2 separate regions of the Homo sapiens genome follow, and region 1 is linked to region 2. The links are contacts of gene promoters, found by promoter capture Hi-C in human tissues and cell types (Jung and others, 2019). All regions are on one chromosome and are shown on one strand. Each heading gives the region's core, a stretch centred on a gene start or on the middle of the fragment in contact. The rest is flanking DNA. Distances are from core to core; before and after follow the strand shown. Region 1 has its middle 22 kb from the start of COX6A1. Region 2 holds the start of PLA2G1B (phospholipase A2 group IB).

Evidence for each region. The method cuts DNA at HindIII sites, captures the fragments that hold promoters and counts their contacts. A contact is called where the count stands out against the background at its distance.
Region 1: a contact is called between a fragment that was not itself captured here and the fragment with the promoter of PLA2G1B in region 2, in 2 of the 25 tissues and cell types used here (IMR-90 fibroblasts and liver).

The regions. Positions count from the first base shown.
Region 1 is chr12:120,414,202-120,417,668 of GRCh38, forward strand. No RefSeq gene overlaps it. Among named protein-coding and RNA genes, the nearest start is that of COX6A1, 22 kb to the right of the region's middle. The HindIII fragment of the contact is 7,166 bases long and covers 1-3,467 here.
Region 2 is chr12:120,325,486-120,329,088 of GRCh38, forward strand. It overlaps PLA2G1B (phospholipase A2 group IB), which reads right to left and starts at 2,294. Exons shown (of 4, transcript NM_000928.3): 1 at 2,235-2,294; 2 at 376-535. The coding sequence starts at 2,268. RefSeq lists an enhancer at 191-250. The HindIII fragment of the contact is 11,861 bases long and covers 1-3,603 here.

The DNA of each region.
Region 1 (3,467 bases), core at 760-3,259, 88 kb after region 2:
GAAAGGTCTACGGAGGGCCTGGGCTTTCTCCTTTTCACATTCACAATGAGGCACAGCCTATAAATAAAACCTCTCTGGGAAACAAGAGGCTTCAAAATGTGTGTGTGTGTGTGTGTGTGTGTCTGTCCCCCAGAGGGAGTGTGTGTGTGTGTGTGTCCCTGTGTGTGTCCCAGAGTGTGTGTGTGTGTCCCAGAGGGAGTGTGTTTGTGTGTGTGTCTGTGAGAGGGAGAGACAGACCCAGAAGGAGAGAGACCAGAGGGAGAGGGGGAGTTTGAAAGGGCTAGAAAAGGGAAGGAGTGTGAATAAAAGCTGGTGTTAATTGAGCGCTTACTGTGTGCCAGGCAACCATCCTCACAGCAATCCTGTAAGGGTGGTTTTATGGTTCCCATTTTAAAGATGAAGAAACTGAGGTTCAAAGAGGGCAAGAGTTGCCCAAGATAACACAGTGAATTAAGGGGAAGGCTTGGACTCAGGAAGTGGGATGAACATAAGATTCAAATGATGGGCCGGGCGCGGTGGCTTACACCTATAATCCCAGCACTTTGGGAGGCTGAGGTGGGTGGATCACCTGAGGTCAGGAGTTCAAGACCAGTCTGTCCAACATGGTGAAACCCTGTCTCCACTAAAAATACAAAAATTAGCTGAGCGTGGTGGTGCGTGCCTGTGGTCCCTGCTACTCCGGAGGCTGAGGCAGGATAATTGCTTGAACCTGGGAAGCAGAGGTTGCAGTGAGCCAAGATCACGCCACTGCACTCCAGCCTCGGTAAAAGGGCAAGGTTCCGACTCAAAAAAAAAAAAAAAGATTCAAATGATGACCTGTGTCTTTGTGTCTTGATTGTGATGATGATTACAGGACTATGCATTTGCCACATATGTACTAAAAAGGGAGAATTTTACTGTATGTATACTGCAATAACCATGACTTTTATCATTTTTAATTTTATTTATGTATTTATTTTTGAGAAAGAGTCTCGCTCTGTTGCCCAGGCTAGACTACAGTGGCACGGTCTGAGCTCACTACAACCTCCACCTCCCAGGTTCAAGCAATTCTCCTACCTCAGCCTCCTGAGTAGCTGGGACTACAGGTGTGCACCACCATGCCCAGCTAATTTTTGTATTTTTTAGTAGAGATGGGGTTTTGCCATATTGGGCAGGCTGGTCTCAATCTCCTGACCTCAGGTGATTCACCTGCCTCGGCCTCCCAGAGTACTGGGATTACAGGTGTGAGCCACCGTGCCCGGCCAATCCTGACTTTTAAAAAGGTAAAATAAAATAGGCCAGGTGTGGTGGCTCACGTCTGTAATCCCAGCACTTTGGAAGCCGAGGTGGGAGGAGCTCTTGATCTCAGGAGTTCAAGACCAGCCTGGGCAACATGGCAAGATCCTATCTCTACCAAAAAAAAAAAAAAAATTAACTGGGCACAGTGGCACATGCCTGTAGTCCTTGCTAGTGGGGAGGCTGAGATGGGAGGATTGCTTGAGGCTAGGGAATTGAGGCTGCAGTGAGTTATATTTCCACCACTGCACTCCAGCCTGGACAACGGAGTGAGACCATGTCTCAAAATTTACAAAATAATAATAATAAAATAAAATACATACAAAAAAACAGAGGCCAATGGGCAGTGATTGGTGAGGTATCCTGGATACTTGAGGCCTCTCTATACCATTCCCTCTAGCAGGCCTGTTAACCTTATTCACCTCTGTATCCCCAGGCTCAGGGCTCAATAATGGGGAATGTAGATATTAGGGAAATGTTTGCTCAATTGATTGAATACATGGGCTAAGTCATTCTCTCTGGACTCATTTTGCCATCTATAAAATGAGAAAATGATGAAACACTATGGCAAACACCTCCTAATCAGCCTCAGAGGTCACCACCTGCAGGAAGTCTTCATGGATTCCCTTCCACCCGCAGATTGATCAAGGGCCTCTTCTGGCCTCTTACAGAGCCAGGTTGTGTTCCCATCCCTGCACTGACTATAGTGTACAATATTTGTCTGGTTCTGCTCTGTGGAGGCACCTGTGCCTCTGCCTTGGCCCGGGTTCAGCAAAAATCAAGGCTAGGCCTAGAAAGTGATGGGAAATACTCCACGTGAATATTCAGGTTCTTTGCAGTAGGGCCAATGTCCATTTTGCTCCTCTCTGTACCCCAAGTACCTATCCCATAGCATGTAGAATGTTTGAGAAATTAATGAATTAATGCATTTATGAGCTCTGGTCTCAGGTTCAAATGTGAATCATGGCTGGGCGCGGTGGCTCACACCTGTAATCCCAGCACTTTGGGAGACCGAGGAGGGTGCATCACCTGAGGTCAGGAGTTGGAGACCAGCCTGGACAACATGGCGAAACCCTGTCTCTACTAAAAGTACCAAAATTAGCCAGGTGTGGTGGTGCACTCCTGTAGTCCCAGCTATTTGGGAGGCTGAGGTAGGAGAATTGCTTGAATCTGGGAGGCAGAGGTTGCAGTGAGCCGAGATTACGTCACTGCACTCCAGCCTGGGCAACGAGAGGGAAACTCCATCTCAAAAAAACAGAAAGTGAATCATGCTGGTGTTGGCTGGGGCTGGGCAAGGGTCTCAGGCAGCAGAAACCGGCCAATGGAGAAATCCCTGTGCAGTAAAGATGAGCTGAAAGGCCTGACTTCTAGAGCCCCAAGAAAACAATCAGAGGGGCAGATGGTTTGGGGAAGGGGGGAGGCTCTGGTGAGTGGGCAATCTGCCTGCATCTGTTTGAGGCTGAGAGTGAGGTGGGGCACATGGATATGGTTAGGTCCCAGCTCTGCTACTTCTTAGCTATCATTCAGCCCCACCAACCCTCAGTCTCCATATCTGTGAAATGGGCAGGGAATATAATGATACCTGCTTCTACTTTAACATGTTTATTCGGAGGGTGAAGGTACATAATAAGGTCAAAGTGCCTAGTCAGAAATAGTTTGTAATTTATTTATTTAGAGACTGAGTCTCATTCTGTTGCCCAGGCTGGAGTGCAGTGGTGCGATCTCTGCTCACTGCAGACTCCACCTCCTGGGTTCAAGTGATTCTCCTGTCTCAGCCTCCCGAGTAGCTGGGATTACAGGTGCCCACCACCACACCCGGGTAATTTTTATATTTTTAGTAGAGACGGGGTTTCACAATGTTGGCCAGGCTGGACTTGAACTCCTGACCTCAAGTGATTCGCCCACCTCAGCCTCCCAAAGTACTGGGATTATAGGTACTTATTTATTTTTATAGAGATGGGGTCCTACTATGTTGCCCAGGCTGGTCTTGAACTCCTGGACTCAAGCAATCCTCCTGCCTCAGGCCTCCCAGAGTGCTGTGATTACAGGCATGAGCCACTGTTCCCCACCAGAAATATTTTAAACTCCATAACATCTTTTCCTCTTTTCTCCCAAATGTTTTTCTTTCTTCCTTTTTTTTTTCCTTTGAGACAAAGTCTCACTCAGTTGCCCAAGCTGGAGTACAGTGGCAC
Region 2 (3,603 bases), core at 1,044-3,543:
CACCGCGCCTGGCCTGAAAGCGATTTTTAACATGGTTGCAAGAATACAGTAAAATCCTGTATTCAGAAGGTGCAGTGACAACCACTGCTAGAAAATGACACGTGGATAGTTGCTGTGATGTTTACTGTTGCTACATTCTGCCACTGGAGGGCAGCATCGCCCACTGTTTTGCACGTCGGTCATTGTTTCCATCTCTAACGGGGTGCGTTCGCTACAGGGTCCTCTTGGAACATATTTGTTTATTTGACAAGAGGTGAAAATATGTTATCCTTAGCAGATATGCAAGTCCCCTTTGTATGCCTCGTGAGATCCTTGGCGTGTGCCCCACCCCGCCCCCGGCAGGCACTCCAATTTTCCTGCAGGCGGATCACTTACTTGTCCAGTTCATCCACGGGGGTGCCTGAGCCCCCCAAGCCACAGTAGCAGCCGTAGTTGTTGTATTCCAAGAAGGGGTCACTCCCCGGGATCACGCACTTGATCATTTTGCGGAACTGCCACACGGCCCGAGGGCTGATGCCGCTGTCGGCGGCGGCCACTGCAAGAAGACATAGCCAGAGTTCAAATCGGTCTGCCAGCACCCCGGGGACACACTGCCTTCCTGCTCCCTCGGGTCCCACGCTGCCTCCCTGACCCCTGCCAGCTGCCTCCTCTGAAGACCGTTGGACCCAGGAACCTGGTAAAGTGAAAGTGGGTAGAGGTTTTTTTTTTTTTTTAATGAAAACTTTATATATATAAAGTTTATATCTTTGTGTGTGTGTATATATATATATATCTTCTTCTTTTTCTTCTTCTTCTTCTTCTGGGACCCTACCGCCTCAGCTAGGATTACAGGCATGTGCCACCCAGCTAGGCCTGATAGTTTTTTTTTTTTTTTTGAGATGGAGTCTTGCTCTGTTGCCCAGGTTGGAGTGCAGTGACACGATTTCAGCTCACTGCAAACTCTGCTTCCCGGGTTCACGCCATTCTCCTGCCTCAGCCTCCCTAGGTCAGATAGTTTTAAACTATCTGCACTGTTTATCCAGTGAATATTTATTGAGCACTTACTATGTGCCAGGCTCTGTCCTAGGAGCTAGAGATACAGCAGTGAACAGATATAATAATAATAATAATAATAATAATAATAATAATAATAATAATAATCTCTAACCTCATGGAGCTTACAACCTAGTGGGAGAGAAAAACAATAAATAATAAATGTGATAAGGCCGGGCACGGTGGCTCATGCCTGTAATCCCAGCACTTTGGGAGGCCGAGGCAGGCGGATCACAAGGTCATGAGATCGAGACCATCCTGGCTAACACGATGAAACCCCGTCTTTATTAAAAATACAAAAAAATTAGCGGGGCGTGGTGGCAGGCGCCTTTAGTCCCAGCTACTGGGGAGGCTGAGGCGGGAGAATGGCGTGAACCCAGCAGGTGGAGCTTGCAGTGAGCCGAGATCGCACCACTGTACTCCAGCCTTGGCGACAAAGCAAGACTCTGTCTCAATAATAATAAGAATAATAATAAATGTGATAAGTAAGGAAACTGGATACTGCATTAGAAAGGGGAAGAATAGAGCAGGATGAGGAGAATCTAAAAGGGAGGTCACCCAGCCTGGCCAACATGGTGAAAACCTGTCTCTACCAAAAAAAACACACAAAAAATTAGCTGGGCATGGTGGTGTGTGCCAGCTACTTGAGAGCTACAAGTCCCAGCTACTTGAGAGGCTGAGGCAAGAGAATTATTTGAACCCAGGAGATGGAGGTTGTAGTGATCTGAGATCACGCCACCGCACTCCAGCCTGGGCGACAGAGTGAGCCCCGTCTCAAAAATAAAATAAAGTAAAATAAAAATAAAAATTAAAATAAAATAAAATAAATGGGAGATTGGCCTAACTACTTAGTTGAGTAAGGTGGGAGGATCACTTGAGCCCACGAGTTGGAAGCTGTGGTGAGCTATGATCATGCCACTGAACTCCAGCCTGGGTGATAGAGCAAGACCCTGTCTGGAAAAAAGAAAATAAAGGCAAGCTTTCTTAGCTCAGGCAATCTGAGTTCAGACTTGCAGGTTGAAAAAGTGCCAGCCTTGAGGGAACCCCAATAGAGGAGCCCTTAAGCCCCACTGGGAACCTCGAATTGAGACTGCGGGGCTGGCCATCCCTGTTTGCTGTGGCCTGTGGCCCCCATTCCAGAGGAGTGAGATCTTAGCTCACTTGGGAGAGAAAGGCGGGTGGAGCCGGGGAGACTTGCCTACCTGTGAGCAGCACAGCTAGCACAAGGAGTTTCATCTTGCAGTCAAGGTGAGAAAAGAACTGAGATGACCAGTCTCAGGTATAGTCTTATAGTCAGTCTCCACACAACCCTGCCCAGATAAGGCTGGAGTGTTTGCTTTGCTCTTGGCTGAGTTTGGGGCTGGCCTTGAATCTGTCTGTTGCAGGAATGACCCTGACGATTTGCCAGCATGGGATCACTGGAAAATATGTTATGCATTTGTCCTTAGCAACTGTTAACCAAAGGGATGGTTTCTGGAGTTTTCAGATCTTACAATCTTGACCCTCATACCCACCACTTTGTACTCAGCCCAGCTTCACGGGCTGGTTGGGGAAAGCAAAGCCGTCAGTTCAGTCGGACGCTGGGATAAGGGAGACAAGAAGGAAGTGCAGCCTGGGCAACATAGAGAGACCTCATCTCTAAAAAAAAAAATGTTAACCAGGTGTGGTGGTGGATTGCACCTGTGATCCCAGCAACTCAGGAGGCTGAGATGGGAGGATCTCTTGAGCCAGGGAGGTCAAGGCTGCAATGAACAGTGATTGAGCCTCTGCAGCAGAGTGAGACCCTATTTCAAAAAAAAAAAAAAAAAAAGAAAGAAAGAAAAAAGATCGCTGCCTGCAGCCTCAATGTCTTATCAAGTGCCTGAATCTGTGCACTGGGTCTGGTTGAATAGTCCCATCAGTCGTGCACCTTGCAGATAAAGAGACAGGTTCAGAGAGTTGCGGTAACTTGCCCAAGGTCACACAGTTGGCAAATGACAAAATAGGGCTCCAGTTTAGATCTGTCTGATTCCAAGGCAGAGGTTTTATTTTTTTCCACCACTCCGCTCTGCAGTGTGGGTTTGTGAGAAAAACCTGGGCTTTGGATTCCAAAGGCCTGAGTCTGAATTATAGAATACTAAAGGGCATTAGAACTGTCATATCAGAGGCCAGGCACGGTGGCTCATGCCTGTAATCCCAGCACTTTGGGAGGCTGAGGCTGGCAGATCACCTGAGGTGGAGAGTTCGAGACCAGCCTGACCAACATGGAATAACCCTGTCTCTACTAAAAACACAAAATTAGCCAGGCATGGTGGCTTATGCCTGTAATCCCAGCTACTCCGGAGGCCGAGGCAGGAGAATGGCTTGAACCCTGGAGGCGGAGGTTGCGGTGAGCTGAGATCACGCCATTGCACTCCAGCCTAGGGAACAAGAGCAAAACTCCATCTCAAAAAAAAACCTGTCACATCACATATCTATTTATTTATATATATTTTTTGAGACGGAGTCTTGCTCTGTTGCCTAGGCTGGAGTGCAATGGCGCGATCTTGGCTCACTGCAAGCTCTGCCTCCCAGGTTCATGCCATTCTCCTG